Regions from separate parts of the Homo sapiens genome. Here all the other regions are linked to region 5. The links are contacts of gene promoters, found by promoter capture Hi-C in blood cells and fetal thymus (Javierre and others, 2016). All regions are on one chromosome and are shown on one strand. Each heading gives the region's core, a stretch centred on a gene start or on the middle of the fragment in contact. The rest is flanking DNA. Distances are from core to core; before and after follow the strand shown.

Region 1 (2,767 bases), core at 86-2,585, 2.5 Mb after region 5:
GAGTTCTCATGAGATCTGATGGTTTAAAAGAGTGTGGCACTTCCCTACTCACTCTTTCTCTTTCTCTCCTGCCACCATGTGAAGAAGTTTCTTGCTTTCCCTTCTCCTTCTGCCATGATTGTAAGTTTCCTGAGGTCTCCCAAGAAGCAGAAGCATATACAGCCTGCAGAACCATGAGCGAATTGAAACTCTTTTCTTTACAAATTACCCAGTCTCAGGTGGTTCTTCATAGCATTATGAGAACGGACTAAGACAGTCTCAAAAAAACAAAACAAAACAAAACAAAAACAAAAAAAAAAACAGGAAAAAGCATCATGACATTGGATTTAGCAAGATTGTTTGGATATGACATCAAAAGCAGAGGCAACAGAAGAAAAAAATAGGTAATTTGGATTTCCTCAAGGTTAAAAACTTTTGTATGTCAGAGGACAGTATCAACAGAGTGAAAAGACAACCCATAAAATGAGACAAAATATTTGCCAATCATATACCTGATAAGGGAATAATATCCAGCATATATAAAGAACTCCTACAACTGAATAACAACAAACCAACCATCCAATTTAAAAACGGACAAAGACTTGAATAGAGATTTCTTCAAAGAATGTATACAAATGGGTAATAAGAATATAAAAAGATGCTTAACATCACTAATCATTAGAGAAATGCAAATCAAAACCACAATAAGATACCACTTCATACATATAAAGGATGGCTATTACCCAAAAAAGGGTAGGGGGTGGGGAATGAATGTTAGTGAGGATGTAGAGAAAATGAAATCTTGCTCATTGCTGGAGGGAAGGCAAAATGGTATTGCTACTATGGAAAACAGTATTAAAAATAGAATTACTATGTGATCCAGCAATTTCACATCTGGTTATATAACCAAGAGAGTTGGGAGCAAGGACTCAAGCAGTTATCTATACACCTATATTCATAGCAACACTATTCACAATAGCCAAAATGTAAAAGCTACCCAAGTGTCCACTAACAGATAAATGGATAAATAAAATGTGGTATATACATAAGATGGAATAATATTCAGACATAAAAAAGGAACCAATTCTGACACATGCTACAATATGGATTAACCTTGAGGATTTTAGGCTAAGTGAAATAAGCCAGTTACAAAATGACAAATACCGTATGATTCCATTTATAAGAGGCACTTAGAGTAGTCAAATTTGTTCATAGAGACAGAAAGTAGAATGGTGGTTGCCAGGAGCTGGGTGAAAGAGAGGAATGGGAAGTTAGTGCTTGGTGGGTGTAGAGTTATGGGACTGGGAAGCTGAAAAAAGTCATGGAGATGGATAGTCATGATGGTTATACAACAATGTGAATATACTTAATACCATTGAACTGTACACTTAAAATGGTTAAAATGGTAAATTTCAGATTATGTACACTTTACCACGGTAAAAACAAAGTATACAAAGATAATTTCAGGCAGTAAGAAGTGCTACAAAGAAACATTGTATCACTGAAAGTGACTGGAAGAAGCCCGAAAACTACATTAGAATGAGAGTACTCAGTGGAAATGACATTTGACTGAGGTCTGATTGACAAGAAAGAATCAGAAAGGTGAGACCTGGGGGACAAGCATTTGAAGCAGAGAGTATAGCAAATGCAAAGTCCTTGAAGCAGGGATGAGCTCTGCATGTTGAAGAAACAGAAAAAAGGCACACTAGAGTGGATCCTGGGAATGTAGATAAGGGATGACCTACAAGGGATAGGTAAGATGTGGTAGGCCAGGGAAGGAGCCTAGATTTTCTTCTAAGGACAATGTAAAACTTGGAGGATTTTTGAGCAGGAGAATTAAGTGATCTAATTTGTTTGTAAAAGATCACTTTGGCCACTGTGTAGGAAATGAATCATAAGAGGGCAAGAGTTGAAGCAGATCCATTAGGAGTTGTTCTAACAGTAGGGACGGTGGTGGCTTGGAATAGATGATAGCAGTCATGACAGAGAAAAATGGAGGCATTCAACATATGTTTTGAAGGTAAAGCCAACAAATCTTGCTGTTTTCATTATAAATAGGGTAATCATACATTCCCTGTTTCCCTGGGACAGAGCTGATTTCTGTCTGTTGTCCCAGTGCCCTGTATGGTTAGTATCTCTTTTATTCTCAACAGTATCCCAGTTTGAAGAATAAATCATATGGTTGCCCTAGCTATGAAGAACAAAGGAAAAATAAGAATCAAGGGTAACTCCTCAGCTTAAGGCAAATTTGTAGTATTGATGTTTCAAAGATGCACTATTAACAGTATTGTTAATGAAGGAAAAACAACAGAACTCCACATTTGTTTTATTCATGAGTCCTTTTTGTCCATAGTCACTTAACAATCTCACATTCCTCTTTCCATCCCAATTCAGTAGCTATGTAAATGTACTAAAACTTCAGAAGAAAAAAAAAAACAAGGCAAATTGAATTAGCCAACTAAAAGACAGTTCAAGTAATTGATCAAGAAATACAAGAGAAAAGGAGCAATTCCCAGGAGACAGCAGCACGTACAGGAGTAGCTCTTAGGCTGTCCCCGGTCCTTCTGCTCAGACAGAGACAAAGAACATGGAACCGGGTCTTTGGTCTGCTAACACTGTGGTAGAAGGAGCTTTATCCTGGATCCTGGACCAGGGAAGATTTTATGCTACGAAGAGATAGAAAAGAAGACTCTCGGGGAAACAGCCCTGTAGAGGGCCTGGACCACATTAAAAAAAAAAAAAAAAAAAGACACTGGAAATTAGTTAGAAAAAAGCATCAAAAATGAAG
Region 2 (3,001 bases), core at 485-2,984, 2.9 Mb after region 5:
CCCTCCTCAATAAGTCATTTTAAACCATTGGTCTCTATCTGTCCTCTATAACAGAGGACTTCCCTGACCCATAAGAAAACAGAGACGTTTTCTACACAAATTAGGTTTAGGGGCATATTATCTAGGGCTTCCAGAGATTTACCAACCATTCAAACTTGTTGTGGGTCCTGGAGATGCCTCCTTATCTAAGGCTAAATGGGCCCGAGTCAATGAAGACTTATAATTAAATCAAAGTACACCCATCACCTATCATGAAGCTAAGTAAAGTAAAGATTCCTACCCTATGGCCTTGCTATCTAAAATAGACTGGTCAAAGTTTCAAGGGTGCAGATAATAAAGAGACAAATCAGTCTCTGATTATAGTCACTGCTTAAAAAACATTGGGAAGGTTCATTTGGGCCTATTCCTGATTGACTGCATGGTGTCTGATTAGGTACCAGCTTTGTTAATGGGTTTGGTGTGGTACTGAGAGAGGCTATTCAAAAACATCATATAAACTGGTAAAGTGCCTCTCTCTTTGAAATCCATGAACAGGCTGGTAAAATTAAATCTATATAATGCAAACTCATGGCTCATGGCTTTTCAACTTAAACAACTTGAGAAAAGTTGAAAGTTAGAGAAGACTACCAGAAAGCACAAACCTTAAGATGAAGGAATGATGCAAAAAAACAATGAAAATTTCTGTCCCAAGACTTGGAATAAGGTTTGACTTTATAAAATTAAGGATTTCCTTTCAACAAAGGACTTTATGAAAAAAGTTAACAAACACATAGCAAATTAGGAGAAATCATTTATACTGTCTAATGCTAAAGAGGCACTGATACCTAGAACATATGATAAATGCTTCCAAATTAACAACAAGAAAATACAATAGAAATATGGACAAATGATAATGGGCAATTCACAGAAGAAGAAACCCAAATCTTAACACATACATGAAAACATGCACAAAATCATTAGTAATAAAATACAAATTAAAACAGTGAGATTTTATACCATTAGATTGACACACAGTAGAAAATCTAATTTTCCCAAGTGTTGGTGGAAATGTGGAGATACAGGGACCTAGTGCTGCTGGTGAAAGACCAGACATATTTGTCCATTCTGTAAAGCAATCTGGCAGTTCATAGTCTAAATATGTATATTATATACGTTCAAGAGAGGGATTCCTAAGCTTGTTTATGTGCCTTTAAATGTTTTTGAAGAATGCCCTCACTTAGCCATTTTTCTGCCCCGAAAGAGTTCTGAGTAAGGCGAAATAAAGGCAATCCTGTTTTTCAGTCCTTTAGGGAACTCCCAGACATATTGCAGCTAACAAACACAATTCTTTGAAAGAAGGTCCACTCTATTTCATTCAGAACCAGATATCCCCAGCAGGAATGTAGATTGCCATCTAGAAGACCTGCTATTATTCTGGGAATGTGAGTGAGGCAAAGCTAAGTTAAATGCCACAAAGCTCTCCTGCTGGCTTAAGTCATTTTCTTAATTCAGTGTTCACTTGGTTGCTATAAACCTTTGACTATTTTCCAGATTCTGGAGAAGCGGATTCTGACAGTTTTTGTTCATTTTTTGGTGTTTCTGTGAAGGGTAATGAGCCTTGGGAACTACCTACTCCACATTTTGACTGAGGTCTGGCCTTGCCAATAATTTTAAAAAATAAAACCAGATCCTCAAAAATGTCTTACAATAAAAAGATACAATAATCAGTACATAAATGTAGTGAAGGAAAACATTCACTGTCTACTCTTGGCTCTGTATTAAGACAATAAGGAGCTAATAATTTCTGTGCACCAGTCGTGTTCCAAACACTATGCTAGGAATTTTACATTGACTTCACTGATTTTTTTTTTTTTTTTTTTGAGACAGAGTCTTGCTCTGTCGCCCAGGCTGGAGTGTAGTGGTGCTATCTCGGCTCACTGCAACCTCTGCCTTCTGGGTTCAAGTGATTCTCCTGCCTCAGCCTCCTGAGTAGCTAGGATTACAGGGGTGCACCACCACACCCAGCTAATTTTTGTATTTTTTTGGTAGAGACAGGGTTTTGCCATGTTGGCCAGGCTGGTGGTGAACTCCTGACCTCATGATCCACCTGCCTCGGCCTCCCAAAGTGCTGGGATTACAGGCATGAGCCGCCATGCCAGGCGAATTCACTGATCTTAAGAATAATTATTGGTTGTGATTCAAACTTTATTTCAAAGATTTAAGACATTTACTTTTGGCAAACACCATATGCCATGTACAGTTGTTTTCACAATGGCTTAGTATTTTTACAGTTGTGGTCTTAAACTCCAAAGGCAGAAAGCTTATCTTAGTTGCAGCATTCCATTCACTCAACAAATATTTCTTGAGGTAAGGAAGCAGCTATTTGGGATAAGATGTACCGTGGCAGGTACATGATGGCACTCACTTCAAGATTTATTGAGTCTCCTCTGTGGGAACAAGTTGCCTAACATGTATATCCCAGTCCACTAGTGTTTTCCTTTGCTCAAATTCTTGCCTTGATAACTTTCTCTGTACCTTCGCTCCTCTGTGATCAAGAACAAGAATCCGTGTAACTGAAACAACTGTTTTAGTCTGTGTGTGTGTACACACACACAAACACACACCAGTTGCCAGGAATATAGCTATGAGTAACACAAGGGCCTTTCCACTGAAGAACTCGTAGTGTAGCAGGGAGACAGACAATGTTACAATTAAATAGAATATGTGTTATCATATAGGGATATGTACTGAGTAGTGCTATGACAAACCTAAAGTTCTTTCTTTCTAAACAAATAACCAATCTGAAAGGAAGGTTCCAATCAAGATGTTCAGAAAATAGGCCAGGCACGGTGGCTCATGCCTGTAATCCCAGCACTCTGGGAGGCTGAGGTGGGCGGAGCACCTGAGGTTGGGAGTTCAAGACCAGCCTGACCAATATGGAGAAACCCTGTCTCTACTAAAAATACAAAATTAGCCGGGCGTGGTGGCACATGCCCGTAATCCCAGCTACTAGGGAGGCTGA
Region 3 (2,924 bases), core at 168-2,667, 2.6 Mb after region 5:
ATCATAGCTTTCCATGTTCTGTTCGCTAAAAATCACTTTGGTGCACTTCAGGCTTTTTCTTTTTTGCCTTTTATAGAAAATTACTTTATTGAAGTATAATTGATATACAATCAACTGCATGTATTTAAAGTGTACAATTTGATGAGTTTTGACACATGGGTATATCTGTGAAACTACCACCAGTCAAAATACCAAATGTTTCCATTCCCCCAAAAGTTACCTCATGCCCATTTATAATCCATATCTTCTTCCAGTCCTGTCTCTAGCATCCACTGATCTAGTTTCTGTCACTATAGTTTGCATTTTCCACAGTTTATATAAATTGAATAGTATTTTATGTGTTCTTTTTTTGTCAGGCTTCTTCCCATTGGAATAATTATTTTCAGATCATCTGTGTTGTTGTACATAGCAATAGGTCATTCTTTTTTACTTCCAAGTAGTATTTCACATTGTAGATATACCACAATTTCTTTAACCATTCACCTCTTAATGAACATTTGGGTTACTTCTAGTTTGGGGATATTAAAAATAAAGCTGCTATGAACATTTGTGAAGAAGGCTTTGAGTGAACCTATGTTTTCATTGCTCTTGGGTTACTACCTAGAAATGAAATGGCTGGATCATATGGTAGGGTATGTTTAACTTAAAAACAAGAAGTATTTTCTAAAGTGTCTGTGCCATTTTGTATTCCCATCTGCTGTGGTGGAGAGCTTTTGGAGCACTTCTAGCTTTCTACAAAAGGCTTTGTATTATATCCAAACTCCTTACCTCAAATCCCCACAACATCTCATAAAGCAGACGATATAAACCCACTTATCACATGAAAAAAAAAATGAGACAATCTACCTGTTATTATATATTGGAGCTGAGATTCAAACCAGATCTATCTAAAGTCAGAGCCAGTCATTGATTTTTTGTTTGGCTTGGTTTTGTTCTTGTTTTTGTTTTCCCAGCCTCCTCTCTTTCTGCCTCCAACCCCTGTATCACAGGGAGATCAAACTCATTTGGATCTGGATATGGAAAAGGCTTTAGCCAGAGAACCTGGGTTCATTAGTAAGAATAAAGAGAAGAGATTAGTAAGAGAGATAGAATAAGGAGAAAAATTAGCTCTGGCTCCCCGCAGTGTTCTGCAAGATACGGTATTATAACAATTAAATTAAAACTTACGAGTCCCAGTTCATAGTTCTTAGCTTGTAGGATTGCTACCTACAAGCCATTCATCCCCACTTGTCTCCTCTTATTTTATTTGATGTTAACCAAGTTATTTCTAACTTATGCAATAATGTGTCTCTCACTTATCTTTTAAATGTTTTTTAAAAACATTTACAGAATATTTTCATGTAATCAAGTGAATGGAAGGAAGCACAGAATTCATTCCACACAACCCAAGGTTACATGCATGTTATTAACTTATGCTATCCCCATCCCCTAGCATGGTACCTTACACACAATAAATACTCTATAAATACTTTGTGGTCAAAACTCAGGAAACCAAACAGGCCAACTGAATAGACACATGCCATGGAGATAAGTCAAGAAGACCATTTCACAAAGTGATGTGAGAAACAACTGAGGCAGGAAAACTGTCCTACATGTAGTAGGCAAATATAACAAACCACCCCAAAACTTAGTTACTTAAAGAAGAAACATTTATTTAGTTCACATTTCTGTGGATTGGCAATTTGTTTTTGGCTCATTCTTCCCGACTCGGTTGGGCTTACTCATGTGTCTGAAATCAACTGGCAGTGCATTGCCTCCGTCATTATCTGACAATTGGCTGATTGTAAGCTGGAGTACTGGGGATAAGTAGGCCACATGCCTTTTTATTTTATTTTACTTCATTTTGTTTTAAGTGCCTGGATACATGTGCAAGACGTCTAGGTTTGTTACATAGGTAAACATGTACCATTGTGGTTTGCTGCACCTATCAACCCATCACCTGGGTATTATACCCCCATGCATAAGCTATTTATTCTGATACTCTCCCTCCCCACACCCTGCCAACGCCATCAGGCCCCTGTGTGTGTTGTTTCCCTCCCTGTGTTCATGTGTTCACATTGTTCAGCTCCCACTTATAAATGAGAACATGCGGTGTTTGGTGTTCTGTTCCTGTGTTAGTTTGCTGAGGATAATGGCTTTGGGCTCCATCCATTTCCCTGCAAAGGACATGATCTCATTCCTTTTTACAGCTACATAGCATTCCATGGTGTGTGTGTGTGTATGTGTGTGTATATATATATATATGTATGTGTATATATATATAAAACATTGTCTTTATCGAGTCTATCACTAGTGGGAATTTGTGTGGATTCTATATCTTTGCTATTGTAAATAGTATTGCAATGAACATATACATGCATGTATCTTTATAATAGAATGATTGATGTTCCTTTGGGTATATACCCAGTAATGGCATTGCTGGGTCAAATGGTATTTCTGGTCCTAGGTCTCTGAGGAATCACCACATTGTCTTCCACAATGGTTGAACTAATTTACATTCCCACCAACAGTGTAAAAGTGTTTCTGTTTGTCCACAACCTCAACAGCATCTGTTGTTTCTTGCTTTTTAATAAACACTATTCTGATTGGTGTGAGATGATATCTCATTGTGGTGTTAATTTGCATTTCTCTAATGATCAGTGATGTTGAGTTTTTTTCACATGCTTGTTAGTTGCATATATGTCTTCTCTTGAGAAGTGTCTCTGTTCAAGTCCTTTGCCCACTTTTTAATAGGGTTGTTTGTTTTCTTCTTGTAAATTTGTTTAAGTTCCTTGTAGATTCTGGATATTAGACTTTGTCAGATGGATAGACTGCAAAATTTTCTCTCATTCTGTAGAATGTTTGCTCACTCTGATGATAGTTTCTTTTGCTGTGTAGAAGCTCTTTGGTTTAATTAGATCCCATTTGTCAATTTTTCCTTTTGT
Region 4 (2,713 bases), core at 7-2,506, 2.6 Mb after region 5:
TACTTTTACTCCATCTGGCTCCCTACCTGATAATTCTTCCTCGTTATATCCCACAAAATGCTAACCCTGCCACCTTCTCAATCCCTGACTGCCAGTTATTCAGTCTGCTTTTTTCTCTCAGTTCACTCCGGTCTGCCATACCATCTGCCCAGTGAACTTGATGCAGATTTCATAAAATGCAAAGTAAAATATTAGCTACAAACCCTGAAGTTCACCTTAAAGACTAGGTAATCAGCTGCTAGGAAAAGACAGTAAGCAAGGAAAATCATAGCTCACCCAGTTTTCCTAGTAGTGTAACATGGACTCTGCTCCAAGGTAAAATTCACCAATGTGCAGTAAGCTTGATTTCAATTCCATGTATTGATTTTAAATTTTTTTCAGTACTATACAGTACCTGAATTTTTTACGAATTTTCATATTTGGGATTGCATTGGGGAAGAAGAATAGATACATCTTTTTCAATAAGTACCACCGTAGCCATAGCTCAAAAATTAGATTGAGCTTAGAGCTTAGTTACACAAGTCTGAGTGTTTTGGGACAATACAAGGAAAAATCAGGTTCATTCCATTTAAAGCCTTTCTTGAGAATCATCAGAGAATCCCAAAAATATTATACTTCAAAGACTAAAGACATCATATTCAAGGGTTTTGAGAAAGTTTCTAAGTGTGTAGCAATGCTAATATATACAGTTATAATCTTTTAAAATACATGCAAAGAAAAAATATTCAACTTTTTTATAATCTAATAAACTGAACTTTTTCAGGTTTTATTAAACATATGTGTTTTTTAAATAATCAAGTACAGTCAAAGAGTTTTAATTTTGTGGAATCTTCTATGGTGGCAAGAATTTAGAAGCCTTACTTAACTCAGAAGGGTGAAAATGAAATCAATAAATATCTGAGCATATTAGCTATACTAAATAGCATTTAGAATTAGAATAGCCAAAAAAATTTAGTATCATTGAAGCCAAGAACAATGGTATCATGGTCAATAATGTTTCTGAAGTTAACAAAAAAAAAGCAAATCCCAGTTCATGATAAATTACAAAAATGGTAATTATGTAGATAAGAATAAATGGCTTTAAATTCCCTAATGAATGAGTCAAGTTACTGACAAGAGCAATCAAAATATATTCCATATGTGATTAACAACACTTAAATTTGACATTGACAAATATTATTTAATTTATACAACAGTAGAATCACAAGTGTATGTAGTCTCTAAGTCTCCAGGTTACAATAAATTATGGAAAGAATGAGAATTTCAGTCAGCATGCTTACTTTATTTTTGTCCTTGACCTTTTGCCTAGAATGTATTTGTTAATTCGGGTGTAGGTCAGAAAAACTGGTGCCCCCCGCCCCCTGAGTCTCTCTCTCACATACACACACGCGTGTGCACACACACATAATTAGAAATGACACTTCTTCACAGAATTCTCCCTTCGGCATTGAAGAAACATATAAAGCTACACTCTATCAATTTGTAACTATGTAACTACTGATCCCATCTTCCCATTAAGTTTATTAAGTACCTATTAGATGCCAGACACTATGCTAAACATTGAGAATCAATAGAAATGAGATATACATGGGTCTGCCTCACAGAGCTTACAGTCTAACAGATTCAGTGGAATGAATTGATATCATTCCTCTGCTATAAGCAAAGCTATTCTATATAGTAGAAACTTGTAAACACTTAGAAGAAAAAAACTGAGTAAGATTTAATAGCATGACTATTACGAACTATATTAATCATACAACTTGAAAGAAAACAAATTGCTTCACTCCCTCAGACTGACATGTCTAAATCTAATCTCAGTTTATAATTAATACACCAGCATAAGGAAACATAAGAACTTCCAGAGCATTGATAAAACTGATGACGAAATATTTCATCCAGTGAACTGAGCTTGTGACATGAGGTCCTAGACAGCAGTAGAATAGAGTCACGTACCTTAGCTATGACACCTTCTGACATTAGCCAAACTGGCTTAGGGTGAGAAAATCCTTCTAATATATGAAGATAAGAAGTTCAAACTTCCTAAATCATAAAGTATTATGTCTTCAATCCTATAGGAATCACTTATGGAAAGTTATTTAAGATTAACAGGGCAAAATTTACAAAAAGGAAGAGATATTCATTTTAAAATTGTAAGCCCAATAAATACACAAGGAAAGCTTCATCTTTTCTCAAGTCCATCCCCCCCCCGCTACACATAGTAGCTACTCAAGTAGAACAAAAACCTAGACATTATGGCCAAAATTTTGACATCTAAGCCCTAAAAGGAATAAGTCACTATTGAAATTCCAAAAATAATTTGGAGAACTAAAATTGACTTTGTATACTAGAATATATTGATATATAATATAATGTCTTAGTTATGAAATAAACATCTCTTCAAACTGTAGGATGTAAACCAAACTTGTATTAATATGTGAAAAACAATTTCTAATTTACGTATTGGAGGAAAAATATGTTCTCTAAATGGAAGGTTAAAAAACTAAGCAAAACACTTACAAATTCTGTGCTCCTATGAAAGAGCCTATGAGAAAAATGTTTGGAGTCAGTGACCAGGTTTGAGCTGCTTGCCACAGGGAGAAACCTGTCAAAGGGGTAAGAGTTGAAGGCTTCCCACCTTTTCGAATGTGCAGAATAAAATTTAGTGATAAAAATGCTTTCTAAAGCCATGCAACTCAAACCATAGTCCACGGGC
Region 5 (2,981 bases), core at 175-2,674:
GAAAAATATCAATAGCAAACACTCAAGACTATGACCTTGAAATGTGCCTTTATGTTGTTTCTTTTAAATGTTTAACTTTTTTTAATTAAATGAAGTGTTTATAGTCACTGCTAGACATTTCATCATTATCAAAGGCCTATTATGTCTTATACAAATGTCTATTTAAGCATTTTTAGCTTAAAAATATAAAATCCTTTCTGTAATTTTCTGCCTTTTTTTCATTTTCAAATATCATTCTTTCAATAAAATTATCTTCCAGTAATTTTGATGTTATTAATCACGATTATTTTTTCATCTTGTATTATGCCTACCAGCCACTTCATGTATATTATTTCACTTAAATCTTATGAAATCAACACGATTGATATTACTTTTATTTCATAGCTACAGAAATTGAAATTCAAATTTCGTCCATTACAACAGACTAGCTGTGGCAAAGACAATGTGAATTTACCCAAATGACTTAACTCTTTTTATAAATTCGTAAAATGTGAAGAATCATAGAACACACCTTAAAATGATTGTGAAATCAAGGAGGAGAAAGCTAGCTAAACTGGTAGACAAACTGCAATAGGACTTGTCAAGCCAAAACCTACAATTATTCTTTTGGATAGTTTCTTTTTCTCTAAAGTGGCAATTTAACTTAAAGATATTAAAGAAACCCAATCTATGGGGTTACTTAAATGTTCTCTTCCAGCCCTTCCTCTTTCCAGTTTTACCAAGAAGCACATTTTAGACAGGGGAAGAGACCAAACCAATGACAGCAGAATTACCATTATCTCTAGCACTATTCGTTGTCAAATAACTAAATGCTGGTTTGAAGAACTAAGTAATTTGAGAAATTAAAAATGAAAGGAATTATAAATGATTTGAAAAAAAATCCTTCTTATTTTTAATGTTTTTTGGTGCTGTTTTCTATGTCCTTCCTCCTATGGTGTCAATTATATTTTTTTCCGTGAAGTGATTTGGTTGGTGAGTCTAATCTCCAACAGTGCCCTACCTCTTTCTCCCAAAAAGGCCTCAGTTGAAAAATGGCTCAACACTTTCCCTGCAAGCTCACAATGAGGATCTCCTATTCTCCCTGCATTCGGCCAGACTCTTCTTTTTTTGCATGCTTTCCTCTCCCATGCTTGGGTTGCACAGAGCTACCGCACATCTGTCTTCTAGGTCAGGCTACAGAGTACTTCGGATACAGCAAGTTACGACCCATCTGGAAAGACAGATCTACCTGCCTTTTGGCTTTCTTCCTTGGTCAAAACTAAAATCCGAAGTGGAGTGCCCCGAGCGATAGAGAAAGTGCCTATAGCTTTGACAGCCGCTTGGAGCATGCTCAGTCGGTCTCCAGGCACCGGGAGGCGGCTCCCCCCCACCACCCCCCGGGCCGGCCTCCACCGCAGCCTGTCCGGCCCCCACCCCTGGCGCGCGCTCCTCCGCACCCACAAGGGCGTTCAGCAGCCGCGCCTCCCCTTCCCGCCACCGCCTCCTTCTCCGCTGGCTGTGGCGGGCGAGGACACGTCAGGGGCCATAAATAAATAAATAATTCCATTCACCCGTTGACAGCGAGGCGAATCGGCTGCGGTTTGCTGGGAACGGAGGGCTGCAGCGCCCACCCTGCGCCAGAGACCAGATAAAGTAAGTACAGCTGGGGAGGGAGGGGAGAGGAGGAGGAGGAGGAGGAGGTGCCGGCTAAGAGGAGGGCGAGCCTGCGTCTGCGACCCGAGCTGCCCGCGGAGCCGCACGCGTGTGTGCAAATAATGGCCAGCCTGTGACAAACGTGCCAACGCAGAGTTGGCCAGCGAGCCCTTATATAGACAAAAAAATCCCGAAGCGGCCGCGGGAGCAGAGCTCGCGTCAGCCAGTGCGCGCCGACAGCTGCCCGGGAACTGAGGGGGCGCGCGGGGTCCTGGGCAAGGAGCGCCTCGCGTGCTTTCGGCCAGGAGGTGCTCACGCTCTCGGCTTTTACACCGAGACTCAGCGTGGCGCGGTGCACCCCAGTCTCCCTGGCTCACGGGACTCCGAGGGCTGCTTCCAGTGCGGCGTGTCTCTAGTGCGCGCCCCGCCAGCATCCGGCCCCCGAGCCCCCTAGGGTGGCGTGGCTTCATTGCCGCAGAAGGTGGAGGCGGGGGTGGAGTGTGTGGAGAGAACGTCTTCTCTTTGAGCAGATGATCAGGACAGGAAGAGGCTGTGAGGGGAAGACGAAATACCGGGGGATGGGGGGGTTGTCTTTCTTCATTTTTGGTCCCCAGGAAGGATGGCAGGGGTGGAAGCAGATGGAAAACTATATGCGGGCGAGGCCTGAGCCCAGGCAGAAAGGGACCTCTGACTTGGCAAGGGTTCAGGAGGGCCTGAGCCTTCTGGTCTTGCTGGGCCACTGCACCACATTGGGGGCGCCAGGCCCGGTCAGGTGGCGCCACAGGCTGCGAGCCCGCTCACGTGCGAACTGCCTGTTTTCTCAGCGGATGCTGCATCGCGGCGCCCTTCTCCACCCCCTTTTCTCCTCTACTTCCGCGAAAAGGATTGCAGACTGCCTTGGAAAGGGCGGTCGTGCCCAGTGCCACTTTCCCGGTAGGGCTGAGGAGGGACTTCTGTAGTTCCAATTCCAGGGAAATTAAAATTTTACACACACACACACACACACACACACACACACACACACACACACACACGAGACATAGAAGAGGAAACGAGGAGTGGTTTCTCTACAATTGTTTTTTGATTTCCTTTCCTGTATTATTTCGTGTCCTCCTTCCCTCTTGGGTCCCAAAGGAGATGCGGCAGAGGAATAAAATAGCGGACAATGATGAAAGTGATGGGAAAAAGACTGGACCCAGAGGAAAGAGTGACTACTGGATGCCATTTCCTGTCACCCCATGCTTCATGGCTAACCCCAGTCTGAACTCAGAGGGTTGCAAACTTTCCACAGACAGGTTAGCTTGAATGTGTTGTGTTACTGGAACCACAAGCACTAAGTATGCATTTGG

What was found. Contacts are between HindIII fragments. The CHiCAGO score rates a contact against its expected background, and 5 or more counts as called.
Region 1: a fragment that was not itself captured here is called in contact with the fragment with the promoter of SLC16A7 in region 5 in 1 of 17 cell types (M0 macrophages); the score reaches 6.2 in M0 macrophages.
Region 2: a fragment that was not itself captured here is called in contact with the fragment with the promoter of SLC16A7 in region 5 in 2 of 17 cell types (total CD4 T cells and non-activated CD4 T cells); the score reaches 6.3 in total CD4 T cells.
Region 3: a contact is called between a fragment that was not itself captured here and the fragment with the promoter of SLC16A7 in region 5, in 1 of 17 cell types (non-activated CD4 T cells). The highest score is 5.9, in non-activated CD4 T cells.
Region 4: a fragment that was not itself captured here is called in contact with the fragment with the promoter of SLC16A7 in region 5 in 4 of 17 cell types (total CD4 T cells, monocytes, naive CD4 T cells and 1 more); the score reaches 10.9 in total CD4 T cells.

What each region holds. Positions count from the first base shown.
Region 1 is chr12:62,085,907-62,088,673 of GRCh38, forward strand. All of the region lies in intron 1 of TAFA2 (TAFA chemokine like family member 2), which reads right to left. Among named protein-coding and RNA genes, the nearest start is that of TAFA2, 110 kb to the right of the region's middle. The HindIII fragment of the contact is 3,802 bases long and covers 1-2,767 here.
Region 2 is chr12:62,456,478-62,459,478 of GRCh38, forward strand. No RefSeq gene overlaps it. Among named protein-coding and RNA genes, the nearest start is that of MON2, 8.8 kb to the right of the region's middle. The HindIII fragment of the contact is 1,125 bases long and covers 1,173-2,297 here.
Region 3 is chr12:62,197,366-62,200,289 of GRCh38, forward strand. It overlaps a transcript of TAFA2 not described here. Among named protein-coding and RNA genes, the nearest start is that of TAFA2, 6.1 kb to the left of the region's middle. The HindIII fragment of the contact is 4,693 bases long and covers 1-2,924 here.
Region 4 is chr12:62,179,792-62,182,504 of GRCh38, forward strand. All of the region lies in intron 1 of TAFA2 (TAFA chemokine like family member 2), which reads right to left. Among named protein-coding and RNA genes, the nearest start is that of TAFA2, 12 kb to the right of the region's middle. The HindIII fragment of the contact is 1,837 bases long and covers 339-2,175 here.
Region 5 is chr12:59,594,605-59,597,585 of GRCh38, forward strand. SLC16A7 (solute carrier family 16 member 7) reads left to right here and starts at 1,425. Exons shown (of 6, transcript NM_001270623.2): 1 at 1,425-1,632. RefSeq lists a silencer at 1,354-1,423 and enhancers at 1,894-2,033, 2,084-2,233. The HindIII fragment of the contact is 11,642 bases long and covers 1-2,981 here.